Regions from separate parts of the Homo sapiens genome. Here region 1 is linked to region 2. The links are contacts of gene promoters, found by promoter capture Hi-C in blood cells and fetal thymus (Javierre and others, 2016). All regions are on one chromosome and are shown on one strand. The core of a region is centred on a gene start or on the middle of the fragment in contact, and the rest is flanking DNA. Distances in the headings are between cores, read along the strand shown. Region 1 overlaps ZNF180 (zinc finger protein 180). Region 2 holds the start of ZNF45 (zinc finger protein 45).

Region 1 (5,178 bases), core at 892-3,391, 550 kb after region 2:
CTTTATCTGTATATATTAGAGACCATAAGTTCACATGGATACCTCCAATTACAATTCAATAACACATTTTATTCTGTCTAGCTTTTCTCCTTTCTTTATGTATACTTTCTTTCTCTGGCTCCCATTTTCCTCTTTATATTTACTTATTTGCTCAAGCCCTGTACATAACCAACATCCTGACCACGTCGGGTGTTTTTGTGACAGTCACAGTCATTAGTCTGTTGCTAATGACTCCAGCTCTGGCAGCCCACTGGCCAAGAGCTTCATATATTCTTAGAAGAAGTATAAATTGATACAACCCTCCTGTATTGGCTATATATTAAATATCTGTATTTACAAATACTGCTTTATTTTGAAATCCTTAAAGATTCACAAGAAGTAGCAAAAATAGAGCCACACTCAGCTTTCCCTGGTAATATCATATATAATGACAGTACATTGTCAAAACCAGGAAATTGAAATTTTGGTACAATATTATTAATTCATGTACAGAGTTTATTCCATTTTTATGTACATTCTTTTATTTTTGTTTTTTTAAAGGCAATATTTTTAAAAGTGTAATGTAACATCCATTAAGTCTACTTGTAAGTACTTATCCTTAGGAAATAACATAAAGTACATCAGGATGCATATACAAGAAACCTCATTAGCAAGTTACATTATCATAGCAAGATGGGAAGGGAGACTAAATGTCCACTAGGAAGTGCCTGGTTAAATAAATTATGCTTTATTCAGATGACTGAATATTATTTAGCAGCCAAGAGAAGAAATAAATTTGCATGTACCGATACATATAAATAATAGAAAGATGTCTATAATATATTGCTGAGTGAAAAAATGAAGAACATTATACAGAAGATGAATAGATTTCTATAAAATATAAATATGCACGGAAAAATCTGGAAAGATGTTCTCAAAAGCATTAAAAGGAGTTATTCTTTGAAGGGGTAGAACTGAGGAGCAGGTTCACTGTCTCTCTTTTAATGCTGCATCCATGTTTTTCAAAACCACTTATTTTAATTAAATATTTGGAAACCAGGAAAGGTGCTTCCCTCTTTAAAAATCACCTTGAAACAACGCAATTCCTTTGTAGTGTCCTCAGGTTTTTTCCTACAGGATACAATAATTCAGTCTGTTAAATGATAGCCCATTCAAGGATACTTTGCTCCTCCTCAAATCAAACACTGAAAAGCAACTACTGCTAATTTTTGATAACTCATTTCTTTAGAAGCCATTGGATCAAAAACTAAAAGAAAATAAAAGTGGCCAGGTGCAGCAGTTCATACCTGTAATCACAGTGCTTTGGGAGGCTGAGGTGGAAGGATCACTTGAGCCCAGGAGTTCGAGCCCAGCCTCAGCAACACAGTGAGGCTCCCCTGTCTATACAAAATATATAAAATAGGCCGGGCATGGTGGCTCACACCTGTAATTCTAGCACTTTGGGAGGCCGAGGTGGGCAGATTGCCTGAACTCAGGAGTTCGAGACCAGCCTGGTCAACATGGCGAAACCCCATCTCTACTAAAAATACAAAAAAATACAAATTAGCTAGGTGTGGTATACCTGTAGTCCCAGCTACTTGGGAGGCTAAGGCATGAGAATCACCTGAACCGGAAGTTGGAGTTTGCAGCAAGCTGAGACCATGCCACTTCACTCCAGCCTGGGCAAGAGAGTGAGACTCCATCTCAAAAAATAATAAATAAATAAATAAATAAATAAGCCAGGCACGGTGGTATGTGCCTACAGTCCCAGCTACTTGGGAGGCAAAGATGGGAGGATCACTTGATGTGGAGAGGTCAAGGTATAAGTGTGTCAATTTTTTCTCCTTATCTATCTAGAAAATATTTTACTATTACAGTAGGAATGGTTATTAAAAATGGCTAGCATTAATGTATTTAAAGGTAGGAAAGGATTCTCCAAACCTAAAAACACCACTGTATATTTACTGGGTAGGTTGTGAGGTTCACAATAAGTATCAAAGAGCCAGAGCTGCTGCAATGTAAAGAAGGCCCAATGTGAAAGCCAAGAGGTTGTGTTGCTTGCATTACTACCACACATACTACAACAGTTAAACTGCCTTTTTATTTTTTGTAGAAGACAGGGTCTCGTCATGTTGCCCAGACTGGTCTCAAACTGCTGGTCTCAGCGCCATGACAGTTTTGTCAGGAAGTTACCCTCTATGGTCTAAAAAGGAGAGGAACCCTCAGTTCTGGGAATTGCCCACCCCAGTCCTGGAAAACTCATGAATAATCCACCCCTTGTTTAGCAGAAAATCAAGAAATAACCATAAAAATGGGCAACCAGAAGCCCCTGGGGCTGCTCTGCTTATGGAGTAGCCATTCCTTATTCTTTTACTTTTTTGTTTGTTTGTTTGTTTTGGTTTTGGTTTTGAGACAGAGTCTCGCGCTGTCCCCAGGCTGGAGTGCAGTGGCATGATCTCAACTCACTGCAACCTCCACCTCCGGGGTTCAAGTGACTCTCCTGCCTCAGCCTCCTAAGTAGCTGGGACTACAGGCGCACATCACCACGCCCAGCTAATTTTTGTATTTTTTGTAGAGATGGGGTTTCACCATGTTGGCCAGGATGGTCTTGACCTCTTGACCTTGTGATCTGCCCACACTGGCCTCCCAAAGTGCTGGGATTACAGGCGTGAGCCACCGTGCCCAGACTACTTTTAAAAATAAACTTGACGCCCTCGCCCTCGCCCTTGCCCTCTCCCTCTCCCTCTCCCCACGGTCTCCCTCTCCCTCTCTTTCCACGGTCTCCCTCTCCTTCTCTTTCCACGGTCTCCCTCTCCCTCTCTTTCCACGGTCTCCCTCTCCTTCTCTTTCCACGGTCTCCCTCTCCCTCTCTTTCCACGGTCTCCCTCTCCCTCTCCCTCTCTTTCCACGGTCTCCCTCTCCCTCTCTTTCCACGGTCTCCCTCTCCCTCTCTTTCCACGGTCTCCCTCTGATGCCGAGCCGAAGCTGGACTGTACTGCTGCCATCTCGGCTCACTGCAACCTCCCTGCCTGATTCTCCTGCCTCAGCCTGCCGAGTGCCCGCGATTGCAGGCGTGCGCCGCCACGCCTGACTGGTTTTCGTATTTTTTTGGTGGAGACGGGGTTTCGCTGTGTTGGCCGGGCTGGTCTCCAGCTCCTAACCTGAGTGATCCGCCAGCCTCGGCCTCCCAAGGTGCTGGGATTGCAGACGGAGTCTCGTTCACTCAGTGCTCAATGGTGCCCAGGCTGGAGTGCAGTGGCGTGATCTCGGCTCGCTACAACCTCCACCTCCCAGCTGCCTGCCTTGGCCTCCCAAAGTGCCAAGATTGCAGCCTCTGCCCAGCTGCCACCCCGTCTGGGAAGTGAGGAGCGTCTCTGCCTGGCTGCCCATTGTCTGGGATGTGAGGAGCCCCTCTGCCTGGCTGCCCAGTCTGGAAAGTGAGGAGCGTCTCTGCCCGGCGGCCATCCCATCTAGGAAGTGAGGAGCACCTCTGCCCGGCCGCAACCCCGTCTGGGAGGTGAGGAGCATCTCTGCCCGGTCGCCCCATCTGAGAAGTGAGGAGACCCTCTGCCTGGCAACCGCCCCGTCTGAGAAGTGAGGAGCCCCTCCGCCCGGCAGCCGCCCCGTCTGAGAAGTGAGGAGCCCCTCCGCCCGGCAGCCACCCTGTCTGGGAAGTGAGTAGCGTCTCCGCCCGGCAGCCACCCCGTCCGGGAGGGAGGTGGGGGTCAGCCCCCGCCCGGCCAGCCGCCCCGTCCGGGAGGGAGGTGGGGGGGCCAGCCTCCCGCCCGGCCAGCCGCCCCGTCCGGGAGGGAGGTGGGGGGGCCAGCCCCCCGCCGGGCCAGCCGCCCCGTCTGGGAGGTGAGGGGCGCCTCTGCCCGGCCACCACCCCGTCTGGGAGGTGTACCCAACAGCTCATTGAGAACGGGCCATGATGACAATGGCGGTTTTGTGGAATAGAAAAGGGGGAAAGGTGGGGAAAAGATTGAGAAATCGGATGGTTGCTGTGTCTGTGTAGAAAGAAGTAGACATGGGAGACTTTTCATTTTGTTCTGTACTAAGAAAAATTCTTCTGCCTTGGGATCCTGTTGATCTATGATCTTACCCCCAACCCTGTGCTCTCTGAAACATGTGCTGTGTCCACTCAGGGTTAAATGGATTAAGGGCGGTGCAAGATGTGCTTTGTTAAACAGATGCTTGAAGGCAGCATGCTCGTTAAGAGTCGTCACCACTCCCTAATCTCAAGTACCCAGGGACACAAACGCTGTGGAAGGCCGCAGGGTCCTCTGCCTAGGAAAACCAGAGACCTTTGTTCACTTGTTTATCTGCTGACCTTCCCTCCACTATTGTCCTATGACCCTGCCAAATCCCCCTCTGCGAGAAACACCCAAGAATGATCAATAAAAAAAAAAGAAAAAAAGAAAAAAAAAAGAAAAATTTAGAAATGGGAAAAAATAAATAAATAAATAAATAAACTTGACCGAAAGAAAAGAAAGAAAAGAAGAGAAGAGATGAGAAGAGAAGAACAAGAAAGAAAGAGAGAGAAAGAGAGAGAGAGAGAAAGAAAGAGAGAAAAGAAAAAGAAAGAAAGAGAGAGAGAAAGACAGGAAAGAAAGAGGGAAAAGAAAGAAAGAAAAGAAAGAAAGAAAGAAAGAAAAAGCAAGAAAGAAAGAAAAGAAAAGAAAGAAAAAGACAGGAAAGAAAGAGGGAAGGGAAGGGAAAGAGGGAAAGGAAGGGAAAGAAAGAGGGAAGGGAAGGGAAAGAGCGAAAGGAAGGGAAAGAAAGAGGGAAGGGAAGGGAAGGGAAAGAAAGGGAAAAAGGAAATAGGAGAAGGGAGGGAGGGAGGGAGGGAGGGAGGGAGGATGGAAGGAAAAAGAGAAAACAAAGAGAAAAGACAATACAAAAAAAACTACTGTTCTTAAGCAGTCCTCTTGCCTCAGCCTCCCAAAGTGGGATTACAGGCGTGAGTCACCACAACTGGCCTAAACTGCCTTGAAATTGCTGCATGAACATTACAAAATAGCCCAAAATGCCAGAAAACAAAAATAAAACTCACAATGCCAAAAAATAGCCACAACCAAACTACAGATGGTACAAGGGAGCCACAAGTTTTGACCCCAAACTGTTAATGGATTCAATCTTATCTGGCCTGAAAGAAAAATTACATTCCTGATATACACCCGTGACAAATACATCTTTTCT
Region 2 (4,777 bases), core at 678-3,177:
GAGGCAGGAGAATTGCTTGAACCCAGGAGGCAGAGGTTGCAGTGAGCTGAGATCGTACCACTGCACTCCAGCCTGGGCAACAGAGCAAGATTCCATCTCAAAAAAAACAAAAAACAAAAAACACAATTAATGATAATTATTAGTTTTTAAGCCTTACTGACTCATCATCTGGGTTTGTTTTAAAATACTCAAGGGAAAAAAAGTTGGTGGGAGAGGCAATAAGATTAGCAAGAATGGAAGCAGGGTGACTGTACATAAGAGTTCATTATATTTGGGTATGTTTGGATATTTCCATAGTAAAAAATAAGGGAATAACAACCCACTATGAATAGTGTGATAACAATTTCATAAAACACAGACAAAAACACATTAAAAACTGCTAAACAGAAATGCATTAAAATGTTAATAATTATCTATATCCTAGTATTAAGGAAATTTGTAATATTTTATATTTCTGTATTTTCTACATCCTGTACAGAGAACGTGCATCTCTATGATCAAAATATGAACTACTAATATTGCTTAAAATTAAATGAGAATTCTTTCAAAATTTTCTAAAGTCTAAACTCAACCTTGCTTTCAAAATCTTCTACAGTAAAATTCCAACCTCCCTCCCCAACTTGATCTCAAATGGCTCCTCTGCAGCCAGTTTCCTATGATTATTTATATGGATCATTTATCTATTTTATTTCCTAATTCTAAATTGGGATTTCAAACTGTGAGACCAAGGGTATTCAGATGTAAGGAACCCAAGTCTAGGACACAAATCCCACTGTTCTTACTAGCACTGTGATATAGGAAAGTAAATTAGGCTCTCTCCATTTCCTCATCTGTATAATTGGTGTAATAACAGTACCCATATCACAATACCCACATCACCTTTGTAAGGTGAACAGAACCCACAACACAAGGCCTTTGTGAAGGTTCAGTGTGTTAGTTTTTATAAAGCCCTCAGAGTGATACTCAGCACCCAATGTTTAACTAGTGTGACTAATATTCATGTCACATTTTCTCCAATTATACAATAACGGAACACTTCTGTAGCAGAAACATTTGCAAGGAATGAAATACCTTCTCGCACTCGGAACAGAAGAGGAAGGTGAATGCTAGGTCCTGTCACAGTGGGGCTCTGCTGCCAGAAGCCAGGATGCTCTCCTTCCTCCTCTCCCGCAGCATTCTTTCAGAAGTCAGGGCAGGGGAAGGAAAGGAGGCTGGGAGATTGCACGATCTTGTCTGAGATCCTGGAAAATCCACAGAGGATAACTCCAGACGCCACCTGTTGAGTGATGCACTCTTTCTTAAAAAACGGGTCAGGCATAGTCCAAGAACAGCCTCCTTTCCTGCAGGAATCAGAAAGAAGAGCCAGGCGCTTGCTGAAAAATGAATATTTTTTATTATGATAGTTTTAATATTAACGGCCGACATGTTGCCACATTCCTGTACTATTCCATACACATTTTACTTGTACTATATTACTAATTGTCAAAACAAATATATAAGGTTAATATTTCCTTTTGCAGAAGAGGAAACTAAGACCAGAAACTAAGCACCGAAAGATTAAGTTCTCACCCAACGTTACACCGCTAGGAAGCTACAGAGCTGTGGGAGGTGGGGGAAGGCGGGTCGGGCCGCTGAGAGCCCAGGAGATCCTCAGACGCCTCCCCATTCAGGTCCACTTCCAACCAGGGGACTCCCGAACCGCCCCGAACGCAGCAGCTCCGGATACAGTAAGGCAATCAGCTGCCCAGCCATTCAACTCCGCCCTCCGCTGCTCGCCGCAGCGTCTTTTCCTGCTGACCGAAGTGCGAGCCCTGCTGATCCTACGACCAAACCATAAAAGTTAAAACAGGTCGCGGGGTCCCAGGACTCACTCACTTCCACGAGAGGAATGAAGGCCGCGCTCTCAACCTCTTGCCGCGGAAGTGCCCGGGAGAGCAGGGAGCTCTGGAACTACATTTCCCAGCATCCCCGGGAGGAACGGAAGCCGCTGCCCCGCCCCCTGGGCGGAAGTGCGGGCTTCGACTCCCACGGCCGAATCTTATTTCTCAGAATCCCCAAGGGGAGCGGGCTTCGTGTTCTCGTCCTCAAATAGTCGAAGTACCACCGAACCCACTGAGCACTGGGGTATAGGTTCCTATTTCCCCAGGGGAGCAAATAACAAAGCCGCGCTTTCCCAGAGCTGAAGTGCCCCCAAAAGTCTGGACCACACGTCCCAGAATCCTCTGTAGGGCTGAGCTTCCCGCCAGCCTGCAATTTTCCTTTTGAATTAGCGGGGGGAGTCTAAGTCATTGCTTGTAGAGCTCAGCCTGCTTTTTCCTTTTGCCATTGTTCCCTTTTATACGTGACAGAAGTTGCGAATATGAAAAAAAAAAAGGAAAATACAAAGGAATGCTATGTGTGAGCTAAAAACAGAGGTAATAAAAGAGGTGGCCAGAGCCGCCCAGAGCAACAAGCCTTTTATAATATGGGTATGGATTCATCTGTGATTAAAAATGCTCAAAAAAGGAGATGCAATCATCCAGCAGGACATGAAACAAAAGCAGCAAAATTCTCCACTTTTCTTGCGCTTAGTTTTCTTTCATTCGCAGGATACTGAAGAAAGTATTATAGTATTGAATAGGCTCTATCCTATATAAAATCTTGAAAACATTCAGTTCAGATTAAGGAATCACATCACTTCTTGCTCTCAGAATCAGGAATCTGTAAAGGTGTCTTATGATTTGCCAAAGTGTCTATGAATATTCAGTAAGGAGAGGGAGGTGAAGTGAGGGATTAAGACATGAAGTGCAAAAAATACAGAAAGCTATACTATTCACTTTTCTCCTAGGTAGAAACTAAATATTTTTCCAAGTTTATTATGAAAGGGTAAAGAAGAAAAAATGGAAGTTGACTACATAGGAGTAGCTGTAAACATCTGAACAATGTTCAATTTAGGCTGAGGCAGGAGACCAGCAGGGCGTGATTCCAAGATCAGATAAGAAACCTGCTGAAACCAGCAAGTGATGGAAAGCAACCTGTAAGTTCCCTTTGCTACCTATCAGTATAAGACACTCCCACCAGCGCCGTGACGGTTTATAAATGCCATGGCAACACCTGGAAGTTACCAACCCCTTTTCTAGAGATTTCCGAGTAACTCACCCCTTAATTTGCATGTAATGAAAAGTTGGTATAAATATACCCAGCCAACAGCCCATATGCTGCTACTCTGGGCACACTGCCTGTGGGCTAGTCTTGGTCTGCAAGGAACAGTCACTGAGCTTTTAACACTGTTGATTCGATAAACCTGCTTTCTTCCGCTGCTGGCTTGCTGTTGAATTCTTTCCTGAGCAAAGCCAAGAAACTGCCCTGCATCAATGCCATTTCAAAATCTGGATAAGTACTCTCTCTACTTTAGTAAGAGGAAGAGAGAAATGTAATCACCCAATGGACTCATCTTGCCCACTGCCCAGAGAGAGCCAATTTATCAAGACAGGAATTGCAATAGAGAAAGAGTTTAATACACGTAGAGCTGGCTAAATGGGAGACCAGGGTGAAGACTGAACTCTGCCGTTTTTTCTTTTCTTACTCAAATTCCTATCTAAGGGTCTGGGGAGTCAAGCCCTCCAAACCATAAAGTCTCATGAGAGGGGTTTTAATTTAACCCTATATAATGTGACTTACTTTCCAACCTGTCATAACACCTCATGACGGATAAGAAAGGAAATCAAAATACTTCAACCCCAAATATGTTTCATTGCCCTATCATGAAATAGCCCTGCAAAGTTGTCCTTTGTGGAGAAAAATCTACATTCTGTAGAGAATCTCCTTTCCTTTTTCCAGGCCATTTTTTCTGATCCAGGAGAGAATCAACTAAGAGTCTGACACTTTTTTTTTTTTTTAAGAGTTTTGCTCTTGTCATCCAGGCTGGAGTGCAATTGTGCAATCTTAGCTCACCACAACCCCCGCGTCCTGGGTTCAAGCGATTCTCCTGCTTCAGCCTCCCAAGTAGCTGGGATTACAGGCATGCACCACAATGCCCGGCTAATTTTGTATTTTTAACAGAGCCAGGGTTTCTCCATGTTGGTCAGGCTGGTCTCGAACTCCCAACCTCAGGTGACCTGCCTGCCTCGGCCTCCCAAAATACTGGGATTACAGCCGTGAGCCACCGTGCCTGGGCTACCTTTTTAAGTCTGATGAGAAAAATCTACGATCTCTTATTTCTGAAGACTGATACCTGGAAGCTTCATCTGCGTAATAAGAACCTTGGTCTCCACAATCTCTTATCCTAACCCAGACATTTCCTTTCTATTGATTCCAGGACTTTAGATAAACTCTTTCAACCAATTGCCAATCAGAAAATCTTTGAATCTGCCTATAACCTGGAAGCCCCACACACTTCACATACCCCTACCCCCCACCCTGCCCTCCACTCCCAACCCCCTCTGCTTCCAGTTGTCACACCTTTCTGGACTAAACCAACGTATGTCTTGCATATATTGCTTGATGTCTTATGTCCCACTGAAATGTCTAAAGCCTAGCTGTGGCCTGACCACCTTGGGCATATGTTCTCAGGGTCTTCTGAGGGCTGTGTCCTGGGCCATGGACGCTTGCATTTGGCTCAGAATAATCTCTTCAAATATTTTACAGAGTTTGAGTCTTTTCATTGACAGAAGTTTTACTGTTACTGAAATCAGCCTCCCTGAAAATTTGGAGGCTGGGGTTTTTAAAAGATAAGTTTGGTGGGCAGGGGGCTAGGGAATGGGTGTGTTTATTGGTTGGGGATGCAATTGGTTGGGGA

Evidence for each region. Contacts are between HindIII fragments. The CHiCAGO score rates a contact against its expected background, and 5 or more counts as called.
Region 1: a contact is called between a fragment that was not itself captured here and the fragment with the promoter of ZNF45 in region 2, in 7 of 17 cell types (neutrophils, naive CD8 T cells, non-activated CD4 T cells and 4 more). The highest score is 9.0, in neutrophils.

What each region holds. Positions count from the first base shown.
Region 1 is chr19:44,485,358-44,490,535 of GRCh38, forward strand. All of the region lies in intron 2 of ZNF180 (zinc finger protein 180), which reads right to left. Among named protein-coding and RNA genes, the nearest start is that of ZNF180, 13 kb to the right of the region's middle. The HindIII fragment of the contact is 7,682 bases long and covers 1-5,178 here.
Region 2 is chr19:43,933,355-43,938,131 of GRCh38, forward strand. It overlaps ZNF45 (zinc finger protein 45), which reads right to left and starts at 1,928. Exons shown (of 10, transcript NM_003425.4): 1 at 1,570-1,928; 2 at 1,072-1,340. ZNF45-AS1 (ZNF45 antisense RNA 1) reads left to right here. Exons shown (of 3, transcript NR_184050.1): 3 at 1-2,460. The HindIII fragment of the contact is 8,828 bases long and covers 1-4,218 here.